3 separate regions of the Homo sapiens genome follow, and regions 1 and 2 are each linked to region 3. Evidence: promoter capture Hi-C in 16 types of primary human blood cells and fetal thymus (Javierre and others, 2016). All regions are on one chromosome and are shown on one strand. Each heading gives the region's core, a stretch centred on a gene start or on the middle of the fragment in contact. The rest is flanking DNA. Distances are from core to core; before and after follow the strand shown. Region 1 overlaps SCGB2B2 (secretoglobin family 2B member 2). Region 2 overlaps SCGB2B2 (secretoglobin family 2B member 2). Region 3 holds the start of ZNF30 (zinc finger protein 30).

What was found. Contacts are between HindIII fragments. The CHiCAGO score rates a contact against its expected background, and 5 or more counts as called.
Region 1: a contact is called between a fragment that was not itself captured here and the fragment with the promoter of ZNF30 in region 3, in 5 of 17 cell types (erythroblasts, M1 macrophages, megakaryocytes and 2 more). The highest score is 7.4, in erythroblasts.
Region 2: a contact is called between a fragment that was not itself captured here and the fragment with the promoter of ZNF30 in region 3, in 5 of 17 cell types (erythroblasts, megakaryocytes, naive CD4 T cells and 2 more). The highest score is 8.9, in erythroblasts.

Annotation. Positions count from the first base shown.
Region 1 is chr19:34,660,307-34,663,006 of GRCh38, forward strand. All of the region lies in intron 1 of SCGB2B2 (secretoglobin family 2B member 2), which reads right to left. It also overlaps the pseudogene ZNF807P and the pseudogene SCGB1B2P. Among named protein-coding and RNA genes, the nearest start is that of SCGB2B2, 16 kb to the right of the region's middle. The HindIII fragment of the contact is 170 bases long and covers 1,246-1,415 here.
Region 2 is chr19:34,639,169-34,641,868 of GRCh38, forward strand. All of the region lies in intron 1 of SCGB2B2 (secretoglobin family 2B member 2), which reads right to left. It also overlaps the pseudogene ZNF807P and the pseudogene SCGB1B2P. Among named protein-coding and RNA genes, the nearest start is that of SCGB2B2, 37 kb to the right of the region's middle. The HindIII fragment of the contact is 225 bases long and covers 1,339-1,563 here.
Region 3 is chr19:34,925,479-34,928,178 of GRCh38, forward strand. ZNF30 (zinc finger protein 30) reads left to right here and starts at 1,425. Exons shown (of 5, transcript NM_194325.3): 1 at 1,425-1,738. ZNF30-AS1 (ZNF30 antisense RNA 1) reads right to left here and starts at 1,348. Exons shown (of 3, transcript NR_110749.1): 1 at 1,251-1,348. The HindIII fragment of the contact is 20,354 bases long and covers 1-2,700 here.

The DNA of each region.
Region 1 (2,700 bases), core at 81-2,580, 270 kb before region 3:
TTCTGCACAGCAAAAGAAACTATCATCAGAGTGAACAAGCAACCTACAGAATTGGAGAAAATTTTCGTAATCTACCCATCTGACAAAGGGCTAATATCCAGAATCTACAAAGAACTTAAACAAATTTACAAGAAAAAAGCAAACAACCCCATCAAAAAGTGGGCAAAGGATATGACCAGACACTTCTCAAAAGAAGACATTTATGCAGCCAACAGATATATGAAAAAATGCTCATCATCACTGGTCATCAGAGAAATGCAAATCAAAACCACAGTGAGATACCAGTTAGAATGGCGATCATTAAAAATCAGGAAACAACAGATGTTGGAGAGGATGTGGAGAAATAGGAATGCTTTTACATTGTTGGTTGAAGAGTAAATTAGTTCAACCATTGTGGAAGACAGTGTGGCGATTCCTCAAGGATCTAGAACTAGAAATACCATTTGACCCAGCGATCCCTTTACTGGGTATATACCCAAAGAATTATAAATCACTCTACTATAAAGACACATGTACACATATGTTTATTGCAGCACTATTCACAATAGCAAAGACTTGGAACCAACCCAAATGTCCATCAATGATAGAATGGATTAAGAAAATGTGGCACATATACACCATGGAATACTATGCAGCCATAAGAATGGATGAGTGCATGTCCTTTGCAGGGACATGGATGAAGCTGGAAACCATCATTCTCAGCAAATTATCACAAGGACAGAAAGCCAAACACCACATATTCTCACTCATAGGTGGGAGTTGAACAATGAGAACACATGGACACAGGGCAGGGAATATCACATGTCGGGGCCTGTCGGGGGTGGGGGGCTGGGGTAGGGATACCATTAGGAGAAATACTTAATGTAGGCGATGAGTTGATGGGTGCAGTAAACCAACATGGCACATGTATACCTATGTAACAAACCTGCATGTTATGCACATGTACCCTAGAACTCAAAGTATAATAAAAAAATAAATAAATAAACGTGCAATGACATTAAAAAAAAGAAATACATATGTAAAAAATTATTGTGATAAAATAAGGGAGACCAAAATAAATGGCAACATGTACCAGTGTTATGGAGAGGAATATTCAATATTATCAAAATTTCAGTTCTCTCCAAATTGAATTCAAAAAGCTGTTTCTAAACATCTGGCACTGTAGAGGGCCAAAACCAGCAAAGACATTCTAGGAACAAGGCCAAAGTAGAAGGACTCCCTCTGCCAGAGTCAAGAACTAAGTAAAGCTTTAGTGTGTACTCAACGCAGTGCCACACTGGCATAGAGACAGACAAAGAGACCAGCGACATGAAATAGGGAACCCAGAAGCAAACTATGTCCCTCTATGGGGCACTTGGTTGTTGACAAAAGGGACACTGAGAATAATGGAATAAGGGCCATCTTCTCTTAAACCAAGCTTGTCCAACCTGCGGCCTGCAGGCCCCATGCAGCCCAGGACAGCTTTGAATGTGGCCCAACACAAATTTGTAAACTTTTTAAAAACATTATGAGTTTTTCTGTGATTTTTTTTTTTAGCTCATTAGCTATTGTTAGTGTTAGTGTATTTTTTTTTAATTTAATTTAATTTTTTTGAGATGGAGTCTTGCTCTGTCACCAGGCTGGAGTGCAGTGGCCTGATCTCGGCTCATCGTAACCTCTGCCTCCCAGGTTCAAGCAATTCTCCTGCCTCAGCCTCCCAAGTAGCTAGGACTACATGTGTGTGCCACCACTCCAAGCTAATTTTTTTGTATTTTTAGTGGAGAGGAGCTTTCACCATGTTGGCCAGAATGGTCTTAATCTCTTGATCTCGTAATCCACCTGCCTTGGCCTCCCAAAGTGCTGGGATTACAGGTGTGAGCCACCGCGCCGGGCCATGTTAGTGTATTTTATGTGTGACCCAAAACAATTCTTCTTCTTTCAGTGTGGCCCGTGGAAGCCAAAAGATTACACAACCCTGTCCTAAACTGGGACAGCAGGGAATCTATATAATTAAAAAGAAAGGGAGTTCTTACCCACACTTCACGTAAAAGTCCATTCCATGTACTTTAGAGACCTCAATGGGCAATCCAAAACAATAAAGACTTTACAAATCTTTATGTAGAAGAATATCTTTATGACCATGACATGAGAATCTTTTTTCCAAAGGAATAAAACCATATTAAAAATAACAATAAAGAGATAAAAATGTTTTTTAAACAACACACACACACACACACACACACAACATGAAGCATAAAGTATAACATTGATAAATTTAATTATATTAAACTTTAAACTTCTGCTCATTAAAAACCATAAGGAAAATACAAAGCTGATCCACAGTGTTGGGGAACACATTTCCCACAAATAACCAAACAAGGGCTCTTATCAAGAAAATATAAAGAACTCCTTTAGCACATTGGGAGGCCAAGGCACAGGAGTTCAAGACCAGCCTGGGCAACATGGTGAAATCCGTCTCTACTGAAAATACAAAAATTAGCCAGGCACAGTGGTATGTGCCTGTAGTTCCAGCTACTCAGGAGGCTGAAACAGGAGGATCGCTTGAGCTCAGGAGGTTGAGGCTGCAGTGAACCGAGATCATGCCACTGTACTTTAGCCTGGGCGGCTGAGAGAGACCCTGTCTCCAAAAAAACAAACAAACAAACAAACAAACAAAAAAAAACAATAAAAGTGCGGAAAAAGCCTTCTACTCACATTTCA
Region 2 (2,700 bases), core at 201-2,700, 290 kb before region 3:
TTCTGTAGCAAAAAACTTGAGTAATCCTTGGGCTTGTGGGTTAATGCCAAAAACTCAAGAAGCAATTTCACAAATGCCAATGCCTCCCTGTGTTCCCAATTCACCCTGACGCTCCAAAGGAAGAACAGAAAGCTATCTTGATATTCTAGACATCACTACCACTTGTTTTCCTACACTTGCTGGAAACAATATCCTAACCTTTCCAATTAGTAACCTAATCACTACCAAATATAGAAAACACATTCGAGTGATGCCTGCAAAAGATGTATTATGCTTCCAGGCATCACATACTCAAGATCTGGGGACTATGTATGCAGGCTATTCGTGCATAGTATCATAAGTAATTGCTATATAATGTCACCAGAACAAATCCAGTAGGGTCCTTCTTCATGTGGTTATACACCTTAACAGCATGCTGTAAAGGGACCACAAAGAATTTTCCCACTGAACTTTGTTCAGGAGCCATCAGGCTTACAGGTCAAATTTAACTTACTTCTGCTCAAACACCACCAGGAGGCGCTCTTTTCCAATGCTTGAGGACCTATCTTGGGTCCGCAGAGAATTTGCTTACCCTTTCTTCCTCTTCACTGGTTTAGATCTTGCTCTTTGATGGGTCTCACTCCTGCCTTTTGAATAGCTTCCTCTGACAGTTCCCATAATACCTTCCATAATCAGAGGCCAAAACAGTAAACAAAATGATCATCGGCCTTGAAAGAGACTAAGATAAGCTAGTTTCTACTGAGGAAAGGTTCCAGTGGGGTTCCTGAGGGCTTGCTCTTGGTGGTAGTAGGGTGCTGGTAGTGTGGAATTCAGAACAGATCCATAAATTGGGGAAAATCTTGGACTTTATGGCCAACCAAACCTTCCAGTGGTTCAGTAGAAGCCACCCTCCAAAAGGTAGATGATAACCTATGCATCTAACAAAACACTTAATAGAATATCATGCAGCTTAATTTATTTGAGATAAGGTCTTGCTGTGTCACCCAGGTGGGAATACAGTGGGGCTCACTGCAGCCTCGACCTCCTGGACTCAAGGGATCCCCCCACCTCAGCCTCCTGAGTATCTGGGATCACAGGTGTGCACCAGACCTGGCTAATTTTTAATTTCTCTTTTTTTTTTTAAATAGAGACAGGGTCTCCCTATGTTGCCCAGGCTGGTCTCAAACTCCTGGGCTCAAGTGATCCTCTCATCTTGGCCTCCCAAAGTACTGGGATTACAGGTGTGAGCCCCTGCACCCAGCCTCATGCAGCTTTACATCATTTTGATCATGTTGGGGACTTGTGCTGAATCAAACTGAGTGCTGTATCTACACTTCCCCTGATTTTGCTACTATGGAAAGCTTAATTTAAAAGGTGGCTATTTCTTTAGATACTTTTATCAAATACATGAAGAAAATTTCAATAGATGAAGAAAAAAAATTTTTTTTAACTCTGGTAAAATATACATAGCATGAAGTTAATCATTTTAACTATGTTAAGTGTATAGTTCAGTGGCATTAAGTACATTCACGATGTTGTGCCACCATCACCACTATCGATGTCCAAAACTTTTCATGAATGGCAAGCTTAGCTTTTCCAGGGTTTTTGAATCTTTATGTTTTTTTCTGGTGGGTCTCCAGGTTACTATGACTTACAGTACCAGGCTAATGACATAAACTGATACCTCTTTATTATTATTTTTTTCCAGATGTGAAATTATAAATGCAGGGACTTAGAGCTCATACAACTTTAAAAAGGTTGGGAAAGTGAAGTTATCACCACTTGGTTATATCTCCTAAGGAAACTAATTTGAGGTCTCCCCTTCTCAATTTTTCCTTCTTTATAGGTACTATTAATGCCCTAGCCCAGCAACCTGACTTATTATTGAATATATTCGGGGTGTGATGGTGAATACTTAATCACCATCACACCCCAAACAAAGATTATGACCAATTGGACTCAAATACTATTGAGCTGCTTATATGCCTGGACTTTGACTTGTTTGGTTTTGACTGGTTTTGTTCATAGGGCCTCCTGTGAAGGAGTACACTTTGGTCTCTTGGTATTATTTTCTGGTAGTCATCGTAATAGTCCCCCTGGTGCACTGTATCCTGTCAAATCTTAAATGTGTGTATGCAGACATCCATTGTGCACTGAATGGTCTCCCTTTGGCTAGATCAGCAAGAATACAATTATTTAACTGATCTGACATCATGACTTGTGAATTCCGTGCTGAGGCCAAGTAAGTCTAATACAATGGTGACAGACAGTGTCAATGCCCAGGGTTTTGGTCACTATGTCAAAATCCAATGGCTGACCCAAAGTGGGGAATTGGCAAATTGAACTAAATTTGGCCTGAGGCTGTCTCCATATCTTGAGTCCTCGTGGAGCTGGTTTGGAGTTTCGTTTTGGAATTTGGTAGCGGAAGGTCAAGGTCGTTTGCCAGATGGCTATAACTTCTCTTTATGCTCAAAGATCTTGACAGTATGTAAATTGGGTGATCACCTTTTCTATTTCTAGTTTTGGTTGATCTTCTGTTAGGTTTGACCAACTCTTGGCCCCTCTTATGTCGACTAAAACTCCTGCAGCTGCAGAAAGTCAAGTTCCAGCACTAGAAACAAGGACCAGTTAAGAGAAATCATTTTACCCCAAAAATATATTTCTTTGACATATTTTGAAGGGACCCTGCTAGATCTTTCCTAGTCTAGATCTAGGAAAGAT
Region 3 (2,700 bases), core at 175-2,674:
CTGCCCGCGTGCCAGCGTCTGTCATGTCTTCTTCCGCCAACATGTTCCTCTGGATGTCCAGCGGCTTGTGTGTCTGCTTGCTAGGGTCTCAGAGTATTTATAGGGACAGGATGGGGGCGGGAACAGGATGGGGGCGTGGCAGGCCAGGGTGGTCTTGGGAAACGCAACATTTGGGCAGGAAAACAAAAATGCCTGCCCTCACCTAGGTCAGTTGGCACAGGGCCAGGGGTGGAGCCCTAGCCAGGGACCACACCCTCCTGTACCCAGCACCTCCCTTTCCCCCTTCCATATCATTTAAAGGGACCCCGCCCTTCCCTCCCCAGCACTCCCCTTCCCCACCTCCTTATCAATGTCATCACCCTGGACTGACTCCAGGAATCACTGTAATGTGGGCTTAATAAGAACAGAGCTCGGCTGGCCGCGGTGGCTCACCCTGTCATCCCAGCACTTTGGGAGGCTGAGGCGGGTGGATCGCTTGAGCCCAGGAGTTCGAGACTAGCCTGGGCAAGATGGCAAAACCCCATTTCTACAAAAAATATACAAAAATTAGCCAGGTGTAGTGGCGCGCCCCTGTAGTCTCAGCTACTCTGGAGGCCGAGGTGGGAGAATCACTTGAACCTGGGAGGCAGAGGTTACAGTAAGCCGAGATAGCGCCACTGCATTCCAGTCTGAGCGACAGAGGGAGACCCTGTCTCAAAACAAAACAAAAACAAAACAAACAAAAAGCGGAGCTGACAGTCAAGGTGAATTTCACGTTTGCCTGTATTCAGTTTTAGCATTACATAAACCAAAAGAAGAATGCCATAAAGGCTACAGGCAGCTAATACAGAGAGGTGTTACTGGAAAAGGAACCAGAAAGAGTAAATATCTCCTAAACGTATGATGGGACAGAAAGATAAATGCCTATTACATATAGTTAATATCTGTTTGATTAGCCTTATTTACATTCTCCTTTTAAAAGGTCTTACATTTAGCATCTTAGATAGAACCCACAAAATTTAAATATTTAATAGAAACTTAAAATTCCTGTATCAGAGGACAGAAATATATTTTTCTCACACGTGATTAGTCTAATTGCCACTATTAATCCTATTAATATTCTGTTAAATAATAGCATTTCTGTAGCGAAAAGCAAACAGTACGGAAAGATAATTTCAAACACCTAGTTTTCATATTTTTGTGTTAAAGTAATAACATATTTTGGTATAGATTATCATTTTTTGTTTGTTTTTGTTTTTGCTTTTTCTGACCTGGTGTGTTAATGCCCTGGGTTGGCCCTCTAAGAAGCTGGCCACCTACTTCGGGCCTCAGGTGTCAGACGCCCCAGCTTCGAGGTCTATGGCTCCCAGCAACTCGAGCGCCTGCGCCTGCGCATTCTCAGCCGGACGGGAGCGCCCAGAAGTCTCCGGGCGCCGGTGGGCGGCCTTGTGGACTGCGCCGGGCATGCTCGGCGGTGTGACGGCTCAGGACTGCATTTCCCAGAGGCTGCAGCTATCCGGCCAATGTAGCCTGAAACTACATTTCTCAGCGGCCACTGGAACGACCTCAATCTCTGCCTCCTCGCCAGTTCATTGTGGTCGTTGACCCGGCAGCGAGCTTTGGAGTTCATCGAGGGAGAAGTCAGCGCCCAGCTCCGAGGTTGGAGCAGCCCCGCCGGGCAACTTGAATTTCTGCAAACGAACACAGCACCGGGAGCTCTGCAGACCTGTGTCGGCGCGGAACCCGGACTGAGACATGCGTGAGCGTTGGGTGGACCGGGCGAGGATCCCGGGCCGGCGAGTGCGGGAGCGGCAGGGCAGGGAGGGTGCGTCGGCCGGGGCCGGTGTGCATCCGCGAAGACTGGGTGCATGGCCTCCATGCGAACCTGAGCTATTAATATTTGTTACTATTTTGGATAAAATCACTGTAATTGATTTATGTAAAGGAGCAAAAGACTCTTCAACTCTCAGTTTAAAAAGGAAACGATAGTTATGATACCTTTTGCATGCAGCGGGAAGAAATGGGATTGCCAGGAAGCCTCTTCTTGTTTGGAAAAAACTGTATAAAGTATTTACACCTTTTAAAGATGAGAGCAATGTCATCTGAAAATTATCAGTGCAGGGAAAAGGACTTCAAAGGATCTGTTGTGCAGATTACTTAACTAATGACAAAATTATGTAAGAAAGGAGAGCAAGATGACAGCTGTAAACATTTCCATCAATCTCCATATTGCACAGAAATAGGACCCAGCTTTTTCTTAAGGTTCTTCAATTTTGCATTATCCCACAGCAGTAGCTCTCTCTCTCTAGCTGCTAGGGGACAGAGGAAATTGAAATGTCAGAGAATCTTTTCTGTTGGTTTTTTATTTGTTTGTTTTTAAAGAAGAGTTGCTCTTAATTTTTTAGTTAGAATTAAAAGAAAGCATGCCAGAGAAACTTACGTTTTAAGTAAAAAGTGGAAACAGGTCGGGTGCCATGGCTCATGCCTGTAATCCCAGCACTTTGGGAAGCTGAGGCGGGTGGATTGCCTGAGCTCAGGAGTTCGAGACCACCAACATGGCAACATGGTGAAACCCCGTCTCTACTAAAAATATAAAAATTAGCCAGGCATGGTGGCGTGCGCTTGTAGTCACAGCTACTTGAGAGGCGGAGGTGGGAGAAGTGCTTGAAGCTGGGAGGCGGCGGAGGTTGCAGTGAGTGGAGATGGCACCACCGCAATCCA